Regions from separate parts of the Homo sapiens genome. Here region 2 is linked to region 1. The links are contacts of gene promoters, found by promoter capture Hi-C in human tissues and cell types (Jung and others, 2019). All regions are on one chromosome and are shown on one strand. The core of a region is centred on a gene start or on the middle of the fragment in contact, and the rest is flanking DNA. Distances in the headings are between cores, read along the strand shown.

Region 1 (6,151 bases), core at 1,277-3,776:
CTTTGCCCTTGTTCTGTCAACTCCTAGCCAATTTTCCTCTTAATCAATGGTCTTACTTCTTTGTCTACTCCCTCCACCCCTCCCTTATGTGCCTGCTGTCTCCATTATGAAGAAAAATAAAACATTTTAGGTGAGGTACAGTAGCTCATGCCCACAAGTCCAGCACACTGGGAGGCTGAGGCTTAAAGATCGCTTAGCCCAGGAGTTCAACACCAGCCTAGACAACATAGGAAGACCCCATATCTACAAAAAAAATTTTAAAATATATCTGGATGCACGGCATGTGCCAGTAGTAGTTCCAGCTACTTGGGAGGCTGAGGCAGGAGAATTGCTTATGCCCAGAAGTTTCAGGCTACAGTGAGCAATAATCATGCCACTGCACTCCAGGCTGGAGGACAGAGTGAGATCCCATCCCAAAAAAGAAAAAAAGAGAAAAGACAGAGAAAAAAGAAGAAAACCTTCTAGAAAGTCAAGAAGTGAAAACACCCTTCCCTACTCTCCAGCAAGTAGGCACAGGCATTTGACTCTGCCCTTTTTAATTGAAAAATACTCAGACCTGTGACCAGGATGGTCTCCATGGCTGTTACAAAGATAGCAAGCACATCTCATGCTGTGAACTTGCACATCCTAAATTAACCAACAACCCTGACTGTAATAATGAAAAAGCAGGTCAATCTAGAAGTGAAACATTTATATTTGTCCCAAGGAGATTTTAAGAAACATCTGGGAAACTGAATAGCGAGGTTAGCCAAGGTTATCTTTCAGTAGAAAACGAGAACAACTTTCTAAGAGAACAAATGTCTATAACACATTCTCTTCAAAGTCAAATATGTAATTTTCTCACTCTCCTTAAAAACATTAAACTTTCAGTGGAAGACGTAAGTCAAAAGCCCATGAATTGTTGCCGATTGCTATGGTTTCCTTTTCTGAGTCATCAGAGACACCTGTCAAGAGGCCTCAGCCTCTCATCCAGAGCAGGCTTTTCAAGCTGCCAACCCAGTCTCAAATAATCATTACCATAAACACGGGTTCCTATTACACCCGTTGCAAAAAGGCTTAAAACGCCGATAATAGCGCACCAATATTATTTCAACAGTTTTGACCGGCGCGTTAAAATGAACTTCAATGCTGAGCCACATTATAAAGGGTTGAGTCAAGCTCCTGATTGTGTAAGATAGCATTTCCCTTAAATGAGCACTTCTCTTCTTTCCTCAGAAGCTAGGCTTCTTTTCAAATTAAAGAAAATACTCCACCCCTCAAAAACCTGGCATATTCTCGGTTCCCTTTACGCTTATTCACACCAGAAACGCTGAATCATGACTCCGAGGTTGTAAAAGAAAAACTATTTCGGCTGGGGCCCCAGGGTCCCTGGAGAAGCCTAGGCTCTGCGTTACCTCTCTCTGCACCTTCTAAAGTCTAGATCCAGAGAAGTCTGGCAGATTGGAGAGCCTCTGGGAGCAGCCAAGGGTGCAAGGCGGGGGCTGGGGGGCTCGGGAGAGTTTTCTGCTCCCTCTCCTGAACCCACGCAGCCCTGTCAGCTCAAGGCTCCCGCCTCGTCTCATCTGAACGAAACCCTTAAGGGGCTGATACACTTCTCATCTGCAAAGCTGCCCAACAGCCTCCGAGAAATTCTCTACTTGGAAGCATCGCCACCACCGCCACCCCTCCGGAACCCTCTGGGTCCGCGCTAGTCCCACTTGGTCACGATCCGGCAGGCGAAGGGGTGCGGAGGCGGTTTCACCAGCCCGCTCCCAGCCCTGCCTCGAGAGAGAAGCCCGCTGAGAGGGCAGACAGTTGAGAAACTCGATCCCAACTCCCCAGCCGGCGCCTCCCGAACCGCCCCGAGAGCCCAGATTAGCCGGGCAGTGGATCCCGGAGCAAAGTGCCATGCACATCCTGGAGAGGAGGGAGGCGTGGAGGGAAAGGGCGGCAAAAATGAAATGCCCCCAAGTCAGTCCCGCAACTTCTCCCGGTCCGAGGGACGGGCGGAGGGTAGAGGAGGCAGCGGCGGCTAGCGCGAGGTGAGGGACTCACTTGAAGGTGAGGACGCAGAGCGGCCGGTAGGACTTGTGGCTGGTGTTCTCGGCCATGCCCTTGCCCCAGAAGTCGTTGGTGAAGATGCCCCAGCGGAGCGGGGCGCCGGGCCGCACGTCGGGGTTGTTCACGATCGCCCACACGTCGTCGTGCACGAACTCGCCCTGCAGGGAGCGGCCGTAGCACAGGCAGCTTGCCCCGGCCAGCAGCGCCGCGGCCCCGGCCGGCGCTAGCCCGCAGCCCCGCCGCCGGGAGGGTGTGCGGTCCCCGCCGCCGCCTCGGGCAGAGGTGGTCACCACCATCGCGCCGCCGCCGCCGCTGCTGCCCTGGCCTCTCCCGGGCGTCTGGCATCCTCCCCTACCGGGGCCCCGGCGGCGCGCGGCGTCTGCCCGGAGGGGGGCTCGGGCATGGTGCTGCGGCAGCTGGACCCGCCGCGAGCTCCCCGCGCTCCGCCGCCGCCTGCGCCGCGGAGTTGGCCCAGCTGCAAATAAACAGCAGTCCCCCCGCCTCCCCCGGCCATCGCCACCTCCTCCGCCCCACTGCGCATGCCCGCTCGCTCTCTCTTCCACCGCCCCCCAATCCCGGGACGCGGGCCGGTTCCCCCGCACAGCCCGGCGCCCTCTGCCCCCGGCCCGCCTTGCTTGCAGGTGGACCGGGGTTCGCGGCGCGCGGCTGCCCGGGAGCTGCGGGGAAGGACACCCCAGGTTCCCACTTGCGGTGTCCGGCTGTGCTCACCCCCACGCCCCCGCCCCCATCCTTCTCCCCCGAATGGGGCTGGGAAGGGGCACATCTGGCGGACCCCTCCCGGGGGACCCAGGAGGGTTTAGCAGGTGCGCAGTCTGGAACCCCCACACCCACCTTCCAGGGAGAAAAGTGCCGCTGCTTCCCGGGAAGTTCCCGGCTTTTCAGCACCCGGGACAACAGCAGCGGCGCCCGGAGAGACGCTCTCCACCCGCCCCGCGCTCGCGTCCAGTCGCCGGCTCTGTGCTCTCCTGCCCGGGCTTTCTCTCACCCGCCCGGCGCGGCGTCCCGCTTGGCGGAGGAACCCGCGGGGATAGGGAGCACCTTCCTCAAAGCCAGGAGAAGGGGTCTCCCTGGACAAGGACATCCTGCTCGCCCTGCCCGGGTGTGTTCAGAGGCGCCACCGGCTCTTTAACTTTACAGCCCCTTTCTTGGCCCGCACTTACAAAAAGTACCAGGTTCGAGTTTTGGTTTGGGCCTGGGAGCCGAATTGTCTTCTGAAACATTTCTTATTTTATTGTTTGCTCAAGATAATTTGGGAGATGCCAAGCAAACTACTTTTTCTATCTAGCTGGATCACTTGGGTCTCATTATTTCCTGGGCTGTGGGCGTGTTTGAACAGGGCGGGGAAGAAGGTGGGGATGGGGGGATGGGGAGGTGGGGGCGATTTGTATTAGGGCCTCTGGCTTTGGCTCCTAAACTTCCTGTCTTTCTGAAAGATTGTTTTCTTTTTTAAAATACTAATTTTAATAATATGTCCCAGAGTGATGATTACTAGAATTTCTCCAGGTCTGAAAATTCTATTTGTTCTTTCAGGCACCTTCTAAATTTCCATTGCTGAGTGTTAGAAGTTATCAGGAATTTGACACATCCAGATAGAAAAACTGAAAATAAAAAGTCACCCTTTTATTCTCATCCTCCCCAAACCCTTAAAAAGCTCACCGACATAATCCAGAAATTGTTCCTCTGCTATGAGTATTTGTGTGGCTCTTTACTATAACAACTTACTTTTTAAAAAATTTTAAGACATCTGAGCAGTTGAAAAGTCAATGAATTAAGATAAACTTATTGTAACTCAAAGTACGTTTCACCCATTTTCACTTTGTTTATTTGGTGACTTGAAATTAGTGACTGAGAAATGAAACTGGAAGTCCTGGACATGGATGTTTTCATTCTTCCATCAAAATCTTTCACGCTTGGTAACCTTAATATACCGACTTTAATATCTAGACACACCTGAGTCTATTTCCCCGTATAACACACTACAGCCTTTCCTATTCACCTATTAACTTAATAAAAATATATTAAGGAGATTCTTTGTGCTACAATGTGCTAAGTATAGGATTGGAAGACCCAAAGCTGCTCGTGTGTGTGCGTCTGTATGTGTGTGTGGTTAACACCATAAAAGTCTAGCTTTCTAAGTTAACAGCTGATTGGGATAGTGAAATTATCTTTGCTGAAATCATAGTTGAGGTAATAGGTCAATGTATCAATCCTTACCTATAATTAACGGAGGCTTTCTAGAGAGAACGTCTTAACCCAAAAGAGTGACTCTAGGCCAGGTGCAATGGCTCACACCCGCAATCCCAGCACTTTGGGAGGCCAAGGCAGGAGCGTTGCTTGAGGCCAGGAGTTCAAGACTGGCCTGGGCTACAGAGTGAGACCCTGCCTCAAAAAAGAAAAGAAAAGAGTGGCCTCTAATAGTAGATTTTTATAGAAAGAAAGTCTTTTTTCCTTCCTCAAATTATCCTTAAGTCATCCTTTTCCAAGGAAGAGCTCTGGCTACCCCCTTCTTCTCGGAGTTGTTTTCTTTTTTAGATGGAAACAGTATCAGAGTGCTCCATGACCATGGAGAGTAGTGCAGGACTTGGGACTGAGACTCCAAAGAGATCATAAAAAGAAGAGATAAAGGAAACCTGAAAGTAGGATTCCTGGTTACCTAATCTTTCCTCTAGGTTCAGTGGCATCTTTATTCTATTTTGCTCAGATGACAAATTTGAGATTGACTTAAAATAGTGAAATGCTTCAAGTCTTCTCAAGGACAACTGATCAGTGAATATTTTTAAAAATTAGTTCCTTCGGGCCTGGCATGGTGGCCCACCCCTGTAATCCCAGCACTTTGGGAGGCCTAGGTGGGCAGATCAGGTCAGGAGATCGAGACCATCCTGGTCAACATGGTGAAACCCTGTCTCTACTAAAAATACAAAAATAACCTAGGCGTGGTGGCACGCGCCTGTAGTCCCAGCTACTTGGGAGGCCAAGGCAGGAGAATGGCTTGAACCTGGGAGGTGGAGGTTGCAGTGAGCCAAGATCACGCCACTGCACTCCAGCCTGGGGACCGTGTGAGACTCTATCTCTAAAAATAATAATAATAATAATAATAATAATAATAATAATTAGTTTCTTTGCAGCCTCATCACCTCCTGATTCAATACTGCTCTGTGTGGTAGGAAAAGTATAGAAGTACTGATGTCAGAGAGAGGTTTACATTGATATGCCAGCCCATCAAGCCATTTGCTTCTCTCTTAAAGTGGAAAACATCCATCTTGACTAATAAAGGGGCCCAAAAGGAAGTTAGATTTAATTCTTGTTACTTAGCCTCTAATTATTTTTAAAGGATTGATAATTAGCGCAATACTACCTCCTGAAACGCCTTGTGTCCACTCAAAAGCAATTTATAATAAAACATGAATTATTGTAGAAGTACCTCTCTGAGGCTCATATAGATTAAGTCACTCATGCAAATTAAGATGGACCATATTTCTGAAAGAGATTAGGACACAACTAAAAATAAATCAAGGGCAAGCTATTGTAATAAAACCAATTTCAAATTACTGCTAACAACAATTCTTTGCTTGACCAAACTTTAGTTAGTCTTCTGAAACTTCCTAGCACCATCATTGTACTTCCTTGTAAAATCCAGTTTTAGCAAAGAACACTACTAAGTCAGTTTGGCAAGAGAGTGATCAGATATCAAGGGTAGGGGGTTCTTGCTGTATTTGAAGTTGAGTCCAGTCTGTCTTCCCCACTGAAGGACCGCATTGCAGTGGTCCCTATAACTATCATGATGGTCCTGAATAAATTCTACCATGCTTTAACAAGTATTGTTGAATAATCTTTTTATTTTAACACTGCTCCCTGTGCTTTTTTTCAGCCTAATGATGTCCTTTATTCAAATATAACCTATATAAATGGCCAAATGCAATATTACAAAGGTGATAATATCGTTTACAAAAGAAATGATACTATAGTTTACATTAAAACATAAATTTTTGTTGTCTAGTTGTTTAAATATTACTGCTCTTGAAGAAAATACAGAAAAGTAGAAAGAAGAACAAAAAAATTTAAATTACCCCCCAACCCATGGGCCTGTGGT
Region 2 (6,498 bases), core at 2,584-5,083, 180 kb before region 1:
AATGTCTAGTTAAAAATTCCAGCCCTTCACTCTGCCTTTATTTCCTCACAAATTATTCTCCTGTATCTAAACTAGATGACACTTTGCTGAGCTTACAAATCTTTGTCACCCAGAACCCCCAGCTCCTGAAGAACTAGATATTAGGGCTCTTAGAAGCTTGATCACCACATGAGTTGAGCCGAAAGTCCATTACTATGTGTAGATTTTCTTCTTATTTTGTAATTGAGAAGAATACTAAGATGTTCCTATCAGGGAAGCAATATAGTCTGGAAGGTAAGAGATCTGTAGTAGACAGGGATGTGTTTTCCAGCTCTGCCACTCACCAGCTATACCGCTTGGGGCAAGTTAACCAACCTCTCAGAGCCCAGGTTTTATTTTTGTAAAATAGCAATAATGTTATCAGCTACCTCAGGGAACTGATATCACAATAAAAATACTTAGTATTTATTGACCATATATAATGCAAAACACTTTCTAAGTTTTATATATAATCATCTCTTTTTTTTTTTTTTTTTTAGACGGAGTCTTGCAGTCTCCCAGGCTGGAGTGCAGTGGCGCGATCTCAGCTCACTGCAAGTTCCGCCTCCCGGGTTCACACCATTCTCCTTCCTCAGCCTCCAGAGTAGCTAGGACTACAGGCGCCCGCCACCGTGCCTGGCTAATTTTTGTATTTTTAGTAAAGACGGGGTTTCACTGTGTTAGCGAGGATGGTTTCGATCTCCTGACCTCGTGATCTGCCCGCCTCGGCCTCCCAAAGTGCTGAGATTACAGGCTTGAGCCACCGCGCCTGGCATCTCATGTTTTTAAATTTATTTTTTCTGAGACAGGGTCTGGTTCTGTCACCCAGGCTGGAGTGCAGGGGCACGATCATGGTTCACTGCATCCTCAACCTTCCGGGCTCAAGAGATCCCCCACCTTAGTCTCCTGAGTAGCTGGGACCACAAGTGCATCCCACAACATCTGGCTAAGTTTTTGTTATTTTCTGTAGAGGCAGGGTCTCACCATGTTGCCCAGGCTGGCCTCAAACTCCTGGGTTCAAGTGATATACATGCATCAGCCTCCCAAAGTGCTGGGGCATGAGCCACTGCACCTGGCCCTATAACGGTTTCATTTAATGATCACAATATGTCATTGAGTTGGGTGCTATTACTATTTCCATTTTATGCAGATGAGAAAACAAGCTTAGAGGAATCACGATCATGTTTAAGCCAGAGTTTGAATGCAGGCCCTCTGACTTCAGGGGCAGGCTGTGACCCACTACTACAGTGTGAATTACTTGACATAAAGAATATAACATGCTTATAATAGTAAGTGAAATATAATAAAAATGCAATAAAATTTTGATGCAATTAATGACAAAATAGCATTAATGAATACAATAGTATTTATAAAATATTAGGACCTATTAAACGCTTAATATGAGAGATTCCATTTTGTTAATTGGCAGTTAACTCTTTGAGGGCAGACACTGAGATTCACTTACTTGTGTAGCACTAGATTTTAGTAGAGCATTTATGGCAGAGGGGCTCTATGAATATCTATCAAATGAAGAATGATTCCATTGGAATCATCAGTACTACAAAGAAAAGCTAAGATATATTCAACTGGTCTAAGCAAAAACATATTTAGAACACAGATTGATGCCACTTTTTGGTCTTCTATACTACAGGTGTATTCCCTATTATTGGCAAGCCTTCACAAGACTCTTACCTTAAACCACGTAGAATATAAAGAATTGTGTTGTATTTCTGTCCTTATTGAATAGTATTTATCAAGCACTCATCTCCTTCCCAAATTGGGCTGAAGACACAGTAAACAATTAAGGGCTGCTTTCCCCTTAACCAAGTCAAAACCACATGCTGCAAAGTGTTAAGAAAGCTATTAGGTATTTGGTTTGAAGGAATCAAAGATTATGAAATTCACTTCTAATTATAAGTGTTTTAAAATTTCTAGTACAATATCATAAATAAAAAACACTCATTTCCTCCTAACATTTTGGTTTATGATACTGCCTTTTAGGAAAGTTCATACTTATAGAAGAAGAATGAACTTTCCTAAAAGGCAGTATCATAGTCCAAAGTGTTAATTTTAGCGAGTTTACTAAAATCTCTATTGTAAAAATGAGAAAATCTGGGGGCAAAAAAAGCTTTGTGTCTTGTTCAAGGTCAGTCAACCAATAAATGGCAGAACCAAGACTTGGTTTCCTGATTCAGTGACATTTTCAAGCATCTGAAAAGAAAAGTGGCCTTGGAACAATGACATTGGAATAAGACAAGAGAACAGACAAGCTTCAGCACAGTTCAAACATTCAGAGCTAAGTGGCATTATGTAATCACACACATTTGAATGTCTTTTCTAGTTTTTAAATCATTGTTCTTTTCCCAAGGACAAATTTTCTTGAGATTGCTTCCATTTTTAAATTGAAGAAAAAAGAACGAACAAAAGAAGTTAATTACAATCATGCTACTGAACATAATACTTTTATGCAAGTCAAAAAACATTTCTAGAAAAGTATTATAATTCTGTTTAATAACACCCATTTAGACATAGATGTAGTGATAAATGATTACTACTAAAATCCTGAATATACTCAAGTTAATATTTCACATTTAAACTATAAAGTTTGCAACTGAAGGTAAACCACTGTAAACAAGAGTACATGTGTGGACATTTGCTCTCATCCAACCTTCTGTGTGGCTGTTTTTAAAGCTGAAATAATAATATCCCTTGTCCCATGAGGATCTAATGGTCTACACACAGAAGACTGTCTCTCTGGAACTATCAATGTTGGTGACAGAGGGCAGGTCTTGTAGGAGGAAGTCACGTGCAATAGTTACCTAGGCATGTAAAGGACTCTCTCCGCCACCACAAAACCCACCCTGAAGAAGAGGTTGCTGGCTGGAATGAACGGGAACACCAGGAACAACAAGCCGACTAAAACCTCCTTGTGCTCCAGTCTCTGAAACACACAATAGTGAAGGAAACATTAACTTCTGTTGAATTCCACTTCAGGCAGCATTTAACCATCTCCTTCACTTTCAGGTTCTCAATGAAGAAATGAATAAATTAGACCAATATAAACCTTTTGACCGGCGTGCTGAATTTAACAGAGAAAGCTGACGGGCTAAAATGGCTGGCATGTCAAAACATACACATGTACCCTGACACACATTTGCCACCCAGAAACATGGATATTGGCCCACTACAGTCAGTGACCGCTACCTGTTGTTTAGGGCTGGATTTACAGCAACCCTGCTTCTTGGTTCTGGCTCCGTTCAGAATCCCTGTCTTTCCAGACACCCCATTCTCAAAGAGCAAAGCAACTGGCTAAAATCAAATGCAGTAAGGCACTGCAGAGAATTTAATTATATCTTCCCAAAATATAATGTATTTTCTTTAAAAAATTCACCAGGAGAAGCAAAGTTTAACATCAAGAAAATCAAATACTAATGATAAAATTTGGGATGCCAATGGAGAGAGAATCATTTGAATTGAAGCATACCTTCACACCTCTCAAATTAGGCTGGCAAGCGAGTATTTACTCCATTGATTTTTTGAATAAAAAATCGTTATAATAATTCATTAAATTGACAAAGAACCTCCTCTGTTATTATATATCTTTATTTGCAAAGATTTTTATGTCACTTATAATTAACAGAAAAAAACTTCTGTTTATTACTGATAATATGTTGCAATGACATTGTAAAAACTCATTTGTATTTCCATGTGTATTTATGGTATAGACACATTTGAAGAGAGTTATATTTAAAACAAAACTTAATGTACTGGAGAATATGTATTTTTTAAGTTTAAGAAAAAAACCAAATAGACTGTCCATATTTCAACTTTTAATGTTTCCTTTAAACATTTTAAAGTCTATTATTTTTAATAATTGGAAAAGAATAAGTAAAAGAATTTCATAAATGTAAATAAAACTCCCTAATAAAAGCTACAAATACTTTAACTATACAAAGTATAACGATTTTAAACATCTTGGGATACTTGTCACCTTGATGTTATTAAAATATTTGTTTTACGGACTAAAATATATAGGGTAATACAATTTCTGAGAGTGATTCCATATGATTTGGACAGTTGCCCTTAAATAATTAATGGATCTATAAGTAATGATCTCATTTTGACCTAAAGGAACCAGAATTTAAAGGAAGAAAAAAATAGATTATGTAACAAGCCTTCAACTCATGATCTACCAAAACTGACCAAAAAGGGTAAAAAAAAAAAAAAAAAAAAAGAACAAATTCATTTTATTTAAAAGCTGCAAGCTATCTTTTTAATTTAGACTATACTTTGGGTTTAGAAAGTACATTTCAATTTGAGAATTTAAACTGTATAGTTTATTTATTTGTTTAAATTTAAATTTTTATTTTCAATTTGGGGTACATGCGCAGGTTTACTACAAGGGTATATTGTGTGATGCTGAGGCTTGGGCTTCTATTGTTTCTGCCACCCAGAGAGTGAAAATCGTACCCAATAGCAAGTTTTTCAGCCCTTGCCTCCCTTTCCCCTCCCTCCTTTCAGAGTCTCCAATGTCTATTGTTCCCGTCTTTACGTCTGTGTGTACCCAAGGTTTAGCTCCCACTTATAAGTGAGAATATGTGGTATTTGGTTTTCTGTTTCTGTGTTAATTCGCTCAGGATAATGGCCTTTAACAGCCTCCATGTTGCAGCAAAAGACATGATTTTGTTCTTTCTTATGGCTGCTTAGTATTTCATGGTGTATATGTACTACAATTTCCTTATCCAATCCACTGTTGACGAGTATCTAGGCTGATTCCATGTCTTTGCTATTGTGAAAAGTGCTGTGATAAACACATAAGTGCAGGCATCTTTTTGGTAGAATGATTTTCCTTTGGGCATACACCCAGTAGTGGGATTGCTGGGTTGAATGGTAGTTCTATTTTTTAATTCAATGAAAAATCTCCAAACTTATTTCTGCAGTGGCTGAACTAATTTGCATTCCCACCAACACTATATAAGCATTACCTTCAAGTACATAATTTTAAAAAATCTTCACAAGAATCCTGTATATCAAGAGCAAGTATTTCTTCTTACAATTGAAAACAGACCCCAAATAAAGAGTGTCTTGTCAAATGTTCCTCATTCACTCTGAGCTTATTATTGGGTAGTAAGTTGCTATTCCCTTTTTATAGGTGCACTTTTATAGAGATAGTTGATTACTTCTTTTCATGCTTCGAAAGCTAAAATACTTTTTTACAAAATTATTCACGTCTTCCCAAAGAAGTTTCTAAAGAGAATGTAATACACCCTAGTAATTCATCCTAAGAATTAAGAATTAAGAGTGCAGGTATAAACAGAACAATGATCAGGCTGTTATCCATGTCCCTAGATACTGTTTTACCCAATGAGCCACCCCACGGCCCCTCATCAAGGTTATTGGGAAAGAGCCCTCACTGGGAATCTGAAAGAGGCTTCTCTCTATATCCCCAGCATCACACGTTCTTACCCTTCCAACGCACCTTCCTCACTACGGTGGGTGTTCACTTTCTTTTTTTTTTGAGACTGAATCTGGCTCTGTCACCCAGGCTGGACCAGGTTGGGAGGTGCCTTCATCTCAGTGGTGGGTGTCAGTTGGGAGCACAGCCAACCTTCCTGCCCCCCCCCCTCACTCACGGACACCCGTAGTGAGCAGGATGCCCATGGCACTGATTGCTGTTGGGGATGCGGAGATGGGGGGAGAGTCAAGGAGCGATCAGCCTCCCCCAGAAATCTGATGTGCACATGGAAAAGCCACAGGGCTGCGTGTTCATCTGTTCCTCCACCAGTTTCTTCAGACACCAGCACAGTCTTTATTTCCTTCATGACATCACTCTAGTTGTAATTACGTGTGTATCTGGGTGTTTACTGCCTTTATTGTCTGTCTGCCTCACTAGAATGTGAGCTCCATGAGCACAGAGTGCTCCTGACTTGTGTTCACTGGTGAACGACTTTTGCTTAGCTCAGTGCCCGGTGTGAATATTTGCTGAATAAATCAATTAAGTGAATAAATGTATCAGGCAGGATACAGAGGAAAAAACTGGGTAGAAGAAGGGGAGCAGGCAGAGAGGGCTTTTTGGTGGAGGTGACATCTGGGCTTGAAATATCAATAAACGTTTACAAGGAAGACAAATTTGGGAATGAGGGGTGGTCACAGCTAGGCACATTCTTGGGAGAAGATATGGAATGTACAAAGCAGGCAATAAGACTAGTCATGTCAGCAAGTGGATAATGAGCGTTTTGCACACTTTGCTATGGAACTGACCTTCACCTAATGGCAGTGACTAAAGGGTCCCTTATGCATAGAAAGAAACGTGAGTGAGTGTTCAGGGTCCACATCCAGACTCAGGTAGTGACCCTGCCACCGATACACCATTGGTACTTGGACAGGCAATATTATCCCTTCCATCCTCAAGGTGCCTCAACTATAAAAGGAGGCAAGTATGCCTGAGCGTTGAATGTAGTTGGGTCATTACAAAGATTT

The links. The method cuts DNA at HindIII sites, captures the fragments that hold promoters and counts their contacts. A contact is called where the count stands out against the background at its distance.
Region 2: a contact is called between a fragment that was not itself captured here and the fragment with the promoter of TMTC1 in region 1, in 2 of the 25 tissues and cell types used here (IMR-90 fibroblasts and heart left ventricle).

The regions. Positions count from the first base shown.
Region 1 is chr12:29,781,416-29,787,566 of GRCh38, forward strand. It overlaps TMTC1 (transmembrane O-mannosyltransferase targeting cadherins 1), which reads right to left and starts at 2,527. Exons shown (of 18, transcript NM_001193451.2): 1 at 2,035-2,527. The coding sequence starts at 2,336. The HindIII fragment of the contact is 32,748 bases long and covers 1-6,151 here.
Region 2 is chr12:29,601,341-29,607,838 of GRCh38, forward strand. TMTC1 (transmembrane O-mannosyltransferase targeting cadherins 1) reads right to left here. Exons shown (of 18, transcript NM_001193451.2): 7 at 2,838-2,959. Among named protein-coding and RNA genes, the nearest start is that of OVCH1, 110 kb to the left of the region's middle. The HindIII fragment of the contact is 6,331 bases long and covers 669-6,498 here.